Linked DNA regions of Homo sapiens: region 2 is linked to region 1. Evidence: promoter capture Hi-C in human tissues and cell types (Jung and others, 2019). All regions are on one chromosome and are shown on one strand. Each heading gives the region's core, a stretch centred on a gene start or on the middle of the fragment in contact. The rest is flanking DNA. Distances are from core to core; before and after follow the strand shown.

What was found. The method cuts DNA at HindIII sites, captures the fragments that hold promoters and counts their contacts. A contact is called where the count stands out against the background at its distance.
Region 2: a fragment that was not itself captured here is called in contact with the fragment with the promoter of AFAP1L1 in region 1 in 2 of the 25 tissues and cell types used here (H1 embryonic stem cells and IMR-90 fibroblasts).

Annotation. Positions count from the first base shown.
Region 1 is chr5:149,268,589-149,275,062 of GRCh38, reverse strand. AFAP1L1 (actin filament associated protein 1 like 1) reads right to left here and starts at 3,204. Exons shown (of 19, transcript NM_152406.4): 1 at 3,079-3,204. The coding sequence starts at 3,094. RefSeq lists enhancers at 1,604-2,143, 2,144-2,685, 2,686-3,225. The HindIII fragment of the contact is 7,342 bases long and covers 1-6,474 here.
Region 2 is chr5:149,218,955-149,225,428 of GRCh38, reverse strand. All of the region lies in intron 8 of ABLIM3 (actin binding LIM protein family member 3), which reads right to left. Among named protein-coding and RNA genes, the nearest start is that of AFAP1L1, 50 kb to the left of the region's middle. The HindIII fragment of the contact is 4,420 bases long and covers 1,929-6,348 here.

The DNA of each region.
Region 1 (6,474 bases), core at 1,955-4,454:
TGTGGTTTTCTTCCCTAGTCAGCTGGGCATGACAGTCCCATCTCTCACATGGTAGGCAGGAGGCTGAAATGAGACCTGTGCTTCTTAAGCCTTCCCTGATGACAGAAGAGAGTGCACACCTGCCTGGGAACAGGGGTACAAGAAAGGTCTGCTGGAATACTTTTTTTTTTTTTTTTTTGAGACAGAATCTTGCTGTGTCGCCCAGGCTGGAGTGCAATGGCTCGATCTCGGCTCACTGCAACCTCCACCTCCCAGGTTCAAGCGATGCCTCCTCTCCTGTCGCAGCCTCTCGAGTAGCTGGGATTACAGGCGCCCGCCACCACACCCAGCTCATTTTTGTATTTTTAGTAGAGATGTGGTTTCACCATGTTGGGCAGGCTGGTCTCGAACTCCTGACCTCAAGTGATCCACCCACCTTGGCCTCCCAAAGTGTTGGGGTTATGGGCGTGAGCCACTGTGCCCAGCCTGGAATACTTGAAGTCTCATGTTTTATCTTAAAAATGCATGCAGATTTTTCATTCTGATTCATAAACGGTTGTGTTTGCAATTATTTATCAGAGTAGAGAACTGAGGAGCCAGACAGTTAAACTGATCTTGTGTGCCCAGCCACAAGACCACTTTACTTGAGATGGCCTTTGTAAGTCACCAAGAACTGATCTGAGTATACTTAGTACTATTCTCAAACTGATTACTTGTACAGCAATGTTGATTTTTAAAAAGAGAATACTACTAAGTATTGCTGTACAAGTAATCAATTCGAGGTGCACTATAAAGTGTGTTGTATTTTACTAATTAAACCACTGTTGGAGCTCCTCACTGTGCACTATGTGCCAGGTGCAGTGTCAGCAGATTGATCACAATAGATCCACTCCTTGCCTTCCTGAAGCTTACTTCTGGGTAGGGAGGCCGACACTAAAGAGTCAGATAACTATGTCTATAAAGTTGTGACAAGAGGTGTAAAGAAAGATAGCAGGCTAGAAAAGCCTGCAGGGAGAGAGCAGGTCAGAGCCCTCCTAGGCTCTCAGCACCAAGGGATTCCTGGGAAGTCTGACTTCCTAGGAAGAGTGCTCTGGAGGCAGCCTTCTGACGTGGAGGTTGTTGGTTACCAAGCATTTAAAGTGAAGTGAACTATTGTCACTCTGTCTTAGGATGACACAGTGCACTTTCCACAGGCCTGGGTAGGCCTAGGTATGGATTTTTGTACTGGAGATCAGACAGGTTGGTATTTAAAAACTGGTGGGGAGTGGGGGTGGTGGAGAGGTTGGGGAGGTGGCGGGCGACTAGGAGTGTGAAGGGGAGGGGGGATGGTGGTATTTGCTTTAGACGCATTATGCAGGAGGTGGGAACAGCAGGACTGAGGGGTGTGAGAGGTGCCTCTTCTCTCTGTTTTTCCTCCCTGATGTACACTCTTCACACTTGCCTAGAAATCAGTTAACAGGTGAGAACTGCTTTACAAATCTAGGCCTCAGTTGCTAAAGAACCAAACAGAAGCCCACTCTCTTTCCTGCCTGCCCTTCCCAGTCCCTGAAGGAGAAGGTGAATGCAGTATTCTCTGTTGGGGAGGGGCAAGTGAGGAGGTTGAACTGGAAGCCAGGAGTCCCCTCTGGCCCTCTGAGCTCGCCAAGCCTGACTTTCCGTTTAACAGGAGTAAGGGAGGTTACCCCACACCTGCTCCCGGCTCATCCCTGCCCCAGTGCCTGCTAATTGCTCCCATGCCCCTGTTCCCTTCTTTTTTTCCTCCCTTCGGGGGCTCAGCACAGCAAACAGGCAGATGGGGGAGAGGTGTGAGATTATCGTGGGGAGGGGAATGAATTTTCCATTATTAATAACAGCAACAACAACAACACTTCGCCTGTTGGCACAGCACTCACTAGTTTATCTAGTGCCGTCACACCTGTGATCTCTTTGGATCCCAGAGGTGCAGACTGAAACCCTGGGGTTCTGATTCCCAGCCTCTGACACTGTTCACATGTCCAAGCAGGCCACTTCTTTACAGACACACACATGCCCATCTGGCCATTGCCAAAGGCCATGTCTAGACCTTTACTTAAAATGTGCGCTGCCGGGCGCGGTGGCTCACGCCCGTAATCCCAGCACTTTGAGAGGCCGGGGCCGGCTGATCACCTGAGGTCAGGAGCTCCAGACCAGCCTGGCCAATATGGTGAAACCCCGTCTCTGTTAAAAATACAAAAATTAGCCGGGTGTGGTGGCGCATGCCTCTAATCCCAGCTATTCGGGAGGCTGAGGTAGGAGAATCGCTTGAACCCGGGAGGCGGAGGTTGCAGTGAGCCAAGATCGCGCCACTTCACTCCAGCCTGGGCAACAAGAGCGAAACTCCGTCTCAAACAAAACAAAACAAACAGAAAAAAATGTGCGCTAGCCCCCTACGAATGCTGCCCTCTCGGCTTATGTCAATCTCAATTTCAGTAAGTCCCCTCCACTTCTGTGAAACGTCTACCAAATACACTGGAAAAGGGTCGGCAAGGTGCCTTGGAGACCATCTAGTCCAACTTTGTCGCTGGTCCAGAGAGAAGGGCTGGGCCGAGGACACAGCTGGTGCGGGATAGAACCACCCCCGCCTCCTCCCTCCCTGGCGCACACATGCATGCACACGCGCGCCTGCTCACGGCGCTCCTCCTTCTCGCAATGCCCTAGGCAGCTGCAAACTTCGGTCCCCTAGAGCTTCTCCCTAGGGGCTGCCCACAGCGGGTGTTTCGGGAGTTGAACCTGTACACCTTGTTTTCCCCTTTAGAGTGGAATGAGGTGGGAGGAGCTCGCTGTCCTCCGGAAACTAGAGGGGGATCTTTTATGAAGTTACAAATCGTTAGCCTATGAAAACTCTGATTTCACACACGAGAGGCGAGTTGGCCCCAGGACACGGGCGTTGACACGCACCGGGTTGTCCCGGCAGCCGAAGGCACCTTTGCATAAGCGCCGCGTCTCCCAGTCCCCTCCGAGCGTTCCTCAGCCCCCGCCCCACCGCCCGCCTCTCTCCCTCCTCCTCTCCGGCTTCAGATCGTCCAGTCTCCCTTTCCCGCCCGGCGCCGCAACAAGTGCGGGCGTCGCGGCCCCTCTTACCCTGGCCTCGGTCCATGGCGCCGGCCCGGTCCCCGGGGAGCGGGCCGCAGGGCGCAGGGGCTCCGGCGCGGCTGGTAGCGGCCGGCGCGCTGCGCTCTCAGGCCAGCCCAGCGGCCGGCGCTCTCTGCGGTCCCCTCCCCCAGACAGGATGCTCGCCGGCAGCCCCCGCCCCGCCCGCGCCCGCGCCCGCCCCTCAGAGCCGCTCCCGGAATAGACCCGAGCACGCCTCGCCCCCTGGGCCGCAGCCCGCTGTCCCGTGGTGCCGCACACGCCCCGCCGCGCCCTGCCGCTCGCTCGCCCTCCGCGGCGCTCCCACTTGGGCTTGGAGGACCCTTTTCCCCGTCCGCACGCGTTCGTTCCCGCGCCCGCGCGGCCTGCCCCAGCCCGGACCCAGGAGGTGTGCGGCTTTGCTTGCACTCCGCTAGCGATGGGGTCTTACCACCGCACCCCTCAGCCGGCTCCATGCCGGAATGCGGAGACTGTTGGAGCGCGTTTTTATCCTAGGGAATCAAAACCCCCTTCCCTGCAGCCGCCACCCATTTCCTGGCTTTGGGCTTGTCTTCTCCATTCGCCGCGGGTCTTTCTTGAGCACCTTCTAAGCCAGACAGTGGGCCCGCGGCGATGCCGGTGCAATGTCAGTGGTGTTGCGAAAGAGGAGTTAAATAATAACAAAGATCTTCAGAAAGAAAAGCACCTGGGAAAGGGAGAAAGAGAGGCTTGCTGAAAGGTGGGCAAGGGCTTGGGACACTTTCAACTTTTGAGGTTCCTTGTGTACTAAAACGTGAAAACATAACGAGGATCTGGGAGAATTCAGAAAAAGAATAGAAAAATGAGTAACACGTGAAAACATGCAGAACAGGGTGATAAAAAATGTGGAAATGAATACTTTTAGCATACAAAATACAGTGCAATATAAGTGTACTTTTCGCAAGATTGTAGAAAATATTGCTATGACCAGTGTGGAACAGTAATGGGATCTAAGTTTAAAGCTGTATGAAGAATGTCAACTTCTTCACCTTATTAGTATATCCCTGTGAAAATAGGTCTCACTCATTTATACACAATATCAAATGTCTGACTTTAAGACCCTTCATAAAGTCCAGGACCAATTGTTCTCCTAGACACTGCTCCTCCCACCATGGGCCAGGCCATGGTTTTCAGCTTTGAGCTGACCACTGTTCCCTACTTAGAACATTCTGGAACAGGGAACAGCTACCACAGAGGTATGGAGGCAACAAAAGGCCTGGGAAAGACCCTCCTGTACTTTCCTGGACTGGGAATATTTTCTTTTCTTCTTTTTTTTTTTTCTTGAAAAGTCTCCCTTTGTCGCCGAGGCTGGAGTGCAGTGGCGCGATCTCGGCTCACTGCAACCTCTGCCTCCCGGGTTCAAGCAATTCTCCTGCCTCAGCCTCCTGAGTAGCTGGAATTACAGGCGCCCACCATCACTCCGGGCAAATTTTTGTATTTTTAGTAGAGACGACGTTTCGCCATGTTGGCCAGGCTGGTCTCGAACTCCTGACCTCAGGTGATCCACCTGCCTCGGCCTCCCAAAGTGCTGGGATTACAGGCGCCAGCCACCTAGCCTGGCCGGGAATATTTTCTCTATTGCTTTTATGGGCAAATTAAAATTAACATTTTCTTAAAATATTGCATCAGTAATTTAGTGTGTGTGTGTGTGAGCACTCAGACCAAATGTGATGTTGTGAACAGTGTATGAAAACTTGTGCATGGCTCTTGTTCTGTTAGTTTGGTGCAAAAGTAATAGTGGTTTTTGCCACTGAAAGTAATGGCAAAAAACGCTATTACTTTTGCTCCAATCTAAATACTACATAGTATAATAACTTTTCGTCAATGAGGTTTTCTTGCTCATCTGTGCTATGGGAAGCCTCATACTGTAAGTCCTCACAGGACTGTTGGTAGGGCAAATGAAATAATACAAACCCACTTTATAAACCACAAACAGCTATAAAATATGAGCCATTATTATTTTCTGAGTTCCTTTTTGTTGCTGTCCCCTTTTCCAATTTGAAAAGGTCAGTTTCAATTCTAAAGCAGCCAACCAACAATTTACCAGTGGATTAAGTTTTAAAAGTTTATTGTTTGAACTCTGAACACTTGGAAACAAGGCCATAAATTGTATTTTATTTTATTTTTTAATTATTATTATTATTATTTTTTGTATTTTAGTAGAGACGGGGTTTTACCATGTTGGCCAGGATGGCCTCGATCTCCTGACCTCGTGATCCACCCGCCTCAGCCTCCCAAAGTGCTGGGATTACAGGCGTGAGCCACCGCGCCCGGCCTCCCATAAATTGTATTTTAAGTTCTCAGGCTAGCTCACTAATTCTTCTAAAAACATAATATTTCATTTGAAATAATTTAGAAAAACAGTATGAAATGTTACTATTGCAAAAACAGACGGAGGCTTTTGTAAATATTTTTATTTTTATAATGTTTAAAAAAATATTTAAGATAGAGACAAGGTTTCACTATGTTGCCCAAGCTGGTCTCGAACTTCTGAGATCAAATGCTCCTCCGGCCTCGGCCTCCCAAAGTGCTAGGATGACAGGCATGAGCCTGTAGAGATGTTTAGAGAACTTTCAGAAACTTTCAAGGACTTTGGAGATATATTCAGAGAATTGGAACGAAAAAGTAAAAAAGGCTAAGGAAAATGGAATAATTTATGGAGTGGAATTAACTGAGCTGTGGTCTGGGAAGGATATAGAAATGGGAGAACACAGTCTGTGCACAGTTCTGAGAATCAACAAAAAATTGTTGCTGGCAAGGTATAGGGGTTCTGGTTTAAATAATTACCCATAATGTCCACTAGGTGGCAATGTTGACTAGTTGTCTACAGCTTGGTTGCTGTCAGAGTAACTGAGATGGATGAAAAAGTTATTTGCGGGTTTGGACAAGGAATAACTTTTTTTTTTTTCTGTATGTTTCCTTTAGTGAGTTCTATATTCCTCATAAAAACTAACAATCCACACTGCCCATAAATTCGCTTAGGCAATATTGATTGCACTCTGTGCAAGTTTCTATTGAGAGAAGAAATGCTAAGTAGGAATGATTCTCACCCTCAGGGAATCTACAATCTAGTAGAGGAGACAGACATGTATAAAATAATATAATATAAATTATTGTATGAAAAGTACCAGAGGAGAAATAAAGTGGTCTTGGAGTCCATCAGACAAAGTAAGACTTTTTTACTAATCATGGAGGCTGTAATGGATGACAGATATTTGGAAGGCAGGCAACTGAGAATGTGTAATGAGGAGATAACATTATGGGCAAAGAGCAGTGAGAGCAAAGACATTGAGCTCAAAGGCAGCAGGACGTGTCTGTGAAGCAGTTCAGGTTGGCTGGATCGTGGGTTATTGGGGGATAAGCATCAGG
Region 2 (6,474 bases), core at 2,889-5,388, 51 kb after region 1:
CAGTCACAAAAGAACATATATTGTATGGTTCCATCTGTAAGAGCTATACAAAATTGGCAAATCCATAGAGACAGAAAACAGATTGGTGACTGCCAGGGGTTCGGGGACAGAGGAATGGGAAATGACTGCTTAATGGCATGTATGAGGTTTCCTTTTGAAGTGATGAAAATGATTTGGAACTAGATAGAGGTGGGGGTTGTACAACATTGTGAATGCACTAAAAGCTACCGAATTGTGCGCTTTAAAATGGTTAATTTTGTGTTATGAGAATTTTACATTAACATAAAAAATTTCCCACTCCTCTCCTCCCAGCAGGTGAATTGCTTCTGTAGACCAAGGCACTCTGTTCCTCCTTTGCTACTGAAAGTGCCAAACTCGGCCAGAGAGAGGAGTGAACACTGCTGTTGAATCTGCCCTGTAATAACAACAGTGTGATCATTATAATCTTGGGTGTTAGTAAATCTTTACTGGTATCAGGCACTCTGTGCATCATTTCATGTAATATTCTTAAGGGGTTCCAATCCTGGCTACATCATTTACTAGCTGCATTGTCTAGAGCAAGTCAGTTGCCTCTCTGTGCCTTGGTTTCCCTATTTATAAAACAGGGATGACAACAGTATCTGCCTCATAGGTTTGGTTTGAGGATTAATGAGTTAATCCATGCCCAGCACTTAGAACGGTGTCCGCCTATGTCAGGGACTATATAAGTGTTGGGTATTGTTGTTCTTATTGTCTCCTCTCCTCCACCTACAAAAATAATCTGTGTGCCAGGATCTAGTTTGGGTAAGGGGAGAGCAGTAAAAGGGAGACTTGAGGGGAGCAGGGAGCTGGGGCCTGGGTGAGCGAGGGGGCTGCAGCACATGGCAGGCTGGCTATGCAGGTGGAGTCACTGAACAGAAGCCTGGCTTGGTTGCCAGCGCACCCTCCTGGGAGGTTGGGCTTGTGCCCAGGGACAAGGGCACCTCGGGAGAAGTGGGAAAGACCTACTTGCCTGGAGCTGACATGATGAAGTGGGCCTGAAGCTTAATAAAGAGGTTGGAGGGAGAAAAGTGTTTAGTTACCATGAGGCTGGTTACCATGGAGGATATCGGGCAGGATGAGAAGGGGAAAATGGCAATTCTGAGGTGCCTTGTAATTCACGAGAAATAATAGGTGCTGATAATAACAGTTGGGACAGTAATTAAAGTATATTGAGTGCTTAGTATGTGCCAGGCCCTAAGTATTCTTATTATTCCTATTGTTACTATTATAACTAATATTTATAGAGTGTCGATACCAGGCCTTGTGTCACACACTTTATAACAATAGTGCTTAAATATAAAAAATAATAACTGCCATTTATTGAGTATATATGCTGCACCTTATGCTAAGTATTCTTAAAAATGCTGATAATATTGACAACAGCAAGCACTTACTACTGCATTGCAACATGGGAATGGCCATTTCTATATAACTGGCTGATTATCATGAGCTCAGACTGGCAGAACCAGCAATGCTAGTCCCTGTGCTGAGTCTTTACCATGCATTCATTAGTTCATTTAATCTTCACAACAGCCTTGTGAGATGGAGCCTAGCCTCATCCCTCTTTACAGATGGGAAGTTGGGGGTTAGGGAGCTTGGATGTCTAACCTGCTTGTCCGTCTCTGTCTCCCCACCCTGGCCTGAGTGTGGGCAACAGGTCCTCAGACTCTCTGGAACTTCTCTGCTGAGCTTAGCGGGACATGCTGCCTCTCTGTACTGATGGTGGCAGGGGGCTGGCCAGGCCCTCTGTCCTACTGCATGGAGACAGCCAGTCTGGGCAGGAGAGCATGGGGCCAAACACAAAAAGAAACAGGGAGAAGAACCACCTGATGGTGCTCACGGGCCCCTCGACCCAGCTGTGCTGCTCCTAGACGCTTCTTAGTTCTGTGAGCTGATCAATCTTCTTTTGCCTAACATAGCTTGAGTTAGGTTTCTGTCACCTAAAATGTCTAGACTAATAAAATGTCTCATCGAGCTAAAACCTGAATATCTGACAAGTTCTTGACTTGCCCAGCAGGCAATTTTGTTTCTCAGAAAATAGAGGAAGTAAGCCGGGAAATTGCTACTCTAGACCTAATTCTGACCAACATGGACAAATTGACTGCTGAAGTCGATGTGACATGTGACAGGCGAGAAAATGGCCACATCGGCATGAGTCTGTGGTGACCTGAGAGGAGAAGCTGGAAACAAACTTTAGAAATACAAACCTTAAGCTACTACACTGTAATACTTTCTATATGATTCAAGATGCTTGGTAACCCTTAAAATCTAAATAAAAAAAAAAATGGCAGCTCGCCAAAAATTAAAATATACTCTATTTAAAATGAAATATGCTTAGTAGAGTCAGACTTCAGGAAGTATCAATTTAGTACAGTAACAGAATATGTCTGAAAAATCTAAAATTAGGTAGTAGGATTGGGGAAACATAAGATTTAAAGTTTTTAAGCATAACTCCTACAACCTAAGCTGTCAGTAGAGAGATCCAATTTAAAGTAATAATGCTAAACTACGAAATTATAGCAACCAATACTACAGTAGTGCCTTTTAGAGGGTGGTTTCATGAAATGCGTAGATGATGACTGAGGGCTGGCGTTCCACAACCCATAACAATGGGAGGCCCTCACTTGAACATCTCTCAGCTTAGTGCACCTTTTCTGAGTTACAACCCAGCCATGCCAGAAATACACAGCTCCTGAAACCAGGACCTTGTATCCTCTGAGCTAAAAAAAAAAAAAAAAAAAAAAAAGTAATCTGAAATAGATTCAGTTACACAAGAGAAGGGTTTGGGGTTTGGTGTAATTATCAAAACAAGCTTTTGAGACTCCGTTTCGGATTTGTGTTAACACAGAACCAAGTCTCTTCACTTTATTTTGGCCCATGGACACCTCTGAAAATCTGATGAAAGCTATGGACCCTCTGCCTAAAGAAACACACCTAGCATGCAAAATTTAGCAAGCAATTTCAGAAGACTCATAGAGTTCAAAAGGCTGACCATGAACCAGTTTAAGAATTCTGGTAATATAGATGTAAGAAAATTGCCTCCAAGAACCCTAGCAAGACAGGCCCACTTTGGCTAAGTGGCGTATGCTCTTGAAACTTTCATTCTCATCCTCTAAAATGAGGACATTAATAGTTTTTAGCTGACAGGGTTGTCGTGAGGATAAAATGGGATACTGTGTTTCAAACTCTTAGTACAGTACTTGGCACATAGTAAATGCTCAAAGTATACCAACAAATAATAATTATATTATTAATAATAATAATAAAATGATGGCATTTTATTATTATTAATATTTTTATTATTATCATTATTATTGGTGAGACCTATAATTTGTTATAATACTTTTCTTTAGCAGAGTGAGGTTTGTCCAGTATTTTATAAATGATTTCCTGCCTTGTGGGTTTTAGTTAAATATACAAATGATAACAGCGAATTGTTTTAAAATGTGCAGCTGAACTTACGTAATTCCAGGGTTATTGTCTCAGGTCTTAGAACAGGAGGGTATTTGGTGTAGACAGAAGGGTAGAAGAAGAGTCTATTTTCTCCCTTTTCCTGGGTACAGGCACATTTAGAACAAGAGCAAAATTTGTCTCATGAACCACATTTGGGATTTTAAAAAAACTCTCACTGATCTAGTAACTGCAACCTTTGGGATTTCAGTATAAGTTTTGCCCTGAACCTGCAGCATTTTGGCCATTATTTTGCTGCACAAAATGAGTGACCTAATTTCCTGGTGAAGCCCAAATGAAGGGTTTGGATAACAAACAGATTAGATATTTGGCATCTTTACAAACACAGTTAAAAGATTGAATACACAACAGAACTTAAAACAAATAAAACTTGCTCTTGTCTCCTGGGGCCCCAGAAGTTCTCCTCCAGACAGACGTCAGACTTCTCCCAATTAGAGCCCATCAGAAAGCCATCACATAGCAATTAAAACACAAACAAACTCACCCAAAGAATCTCCCAAGGACCATTTGCCAGTACCATGCTGTGTCCAGCTCCAGAACTGACAAGGCTGGGTTTGTAAGCTTTGCAGGCATCCCAACACTCTCTCTCTCTTATATAAGTTGCTTTATGGAGTCCCCAGTGCCTTCACATTCACTCTCTCCTCTAATGTTCATGAGGACCTTGTGGCATATGGTTGCTCTCTGTGTGCCAGGTAAGTGGGCCTGCCTCAGTTTCTCCACCTCGTTCTGCTTCCACCCACCCAGGGAGGGCCTTTGCACTCACTGTTCTCACTGCCTCCTCAATCTTCCTGCCCTTTTCAGCCTCCCACCTCCTACTCATTTTCAAGGTCTTGGCTTGAAATATCCCTTTTTAGGGGCACCTTCCCTGGCTTCCCAGACTAGAGCAGGGGCTTTATAACACATGCCCATTGTTCAAAACTTTCTCTGTGCAGCACTTGTCACAGCTTGTCATTGAATGTTTACACTTCTATTTGGCACTGTTGGTTTCTCTTTCCAGAGAGTGAACTCCACCAGGACAGCAAGCATGCTTGCCTCACTCATCTCTGAATGCCCAACATGTAGCAGAGAGCCTGGCACATAGCGTGGCCCCCAGTTTGAGTGGATCAATGAAAGACGATGATGTTATCCTCATTTTACAGGTGAAGCAAGAGATCCAGAGAAGGAAGCCACTTCTCAAGGTCACAGCCTATTAGTGGAATTGCTGACGCTTGAACCCGGGAGTCCTGGCTCTCAGCCACTTCTTTACACTCCTGAGCTACCCAGGAGCAGGGTTTTCTTGCCAATTCTGGGGGATATCATATTGAATCCTGGTGTCCCCACTTGGTGAGGGTGTCCAAGGCCCAGATCTCAGTGGTAGCAGAACCCCCACAAGACACTCACAGCCCAAGTGAGCGTGACTCTAGCACTGCTTGGCCTGGTCCCCCTCATTCCAGGATCACTTAGCATCCTTTCAGGCAGGTCCTTGAATGCCCTGCAATTACTCCCACTCTCCCAGGAGCCAGGAGAGGGATGGGGATAATTAATGAGAAGGTGACAGGCTCATCTTCATTACTAAGAATATCTCCCACCCTTGGAGGCATTTCCACTGTAGGTTTAATGGTGCATTCTCTCTCAGGATCACAAAGCTATGCACTTTACTTCCTTGCTTAACTCTTTTAGCACCTGTGGGAAGTTGGAAGAATGAAAGCACTAACCTGTGAGGCTGTGAGCTCCATGAGGGCAGGGCCTTTGACTGATTTGCTCACTGCCACACCTTCAGTTGTGAGAACAGCAGCGGGGACACAGTAGATCCTCAATAGATATTTGCTAAATGAATGATTGAAATGGGAGCTTCCCATGTGTCACGAAATTACTACACCTATATCTTATAGCAACTGTTCTCGGTCTATTTTACATATTAGACAGCCAAGTTTCAGAGAGTTACGAGACTTGCCCAAGGTCAAAAACTTAGTAATCAGTGGAGCCAGGATCCCCCCTGAGGCACTCTGGGTGAAAGCACCCAACAGGGAAAGATTAAGATTAGGAATTCAGGCAGGGAGGCAAAGACGTGGTTTATTCTAGTGATATCCAGGTAGGGATGAGAATGGGAGGGCAGTTTCAATACTAGGAGGTTTGTTCACCAGGGAAGGAGGAGAGGAATATTGTGCAACAAATTTTCAAGCCAAGTGCAAACTCCAGGTTCCCATGGTGGTCAGGATGAAGGCAGGGTGCAGGTTGCTGAGCCTCATAACACTGGTTCCTGCAGCAGGAATCACTCAAGAACCCAGGCAATGAGGGATTGGTGTGCACAGGAAGGGACAGGGACCTGAATATCAGGCAGGGCCTGGGTCCCAGGGGTAAAGTGGAAAGAACCCTGGAGGGGAGACGCAAGGCCAGGCCCTGCTCTGCCCTGACGCACTCCCATTCTCACACAAGTCTCTTCTTTTCTCTGGGTCTATTTTCCCCATCTCTACAATGAGGGTTGGCACTTTACAGTTTAGAGTGACTCTGGGATCCTTACCACTCCAGCATCAGTTCATATAAGTAAGTAGACAGCATCTTAGAAATGGTCACTTTGTTTAATCCAACATAGGAATTCCTGCTCCAGGATTCTTAGCAGATGGCACAAGTTTCTGTTGGGTAGCTCTGGGCCAGTGGTTCTCCACTGAGGATGATTTTGACCCCCTAGGGACATGTGGCAATATCTGAGACATTTTTGATTGTCAGTGGGAAGAAGCACGTGGTTGGCATCTAATGGGTAGAGACCAAGGATGGTACCAAATACCCTACAATGCACAGGACAGCCCACAGTGTCACCAGTGCTGAGGCTAAGGAACTCAGCTGTAGGCACAGGGGGACTCATTGCATCTTGAGGGAACTCATGGCTGTGGGCATTGTGGCTAGGACAAGCTGATACTGACACACTCCCTGTAACTGCTGCCCTGGCCTTAGATCTACCTGGAGGAAGGGCCCTAATTCCTTCTCAAGATGGCTATCCAATCA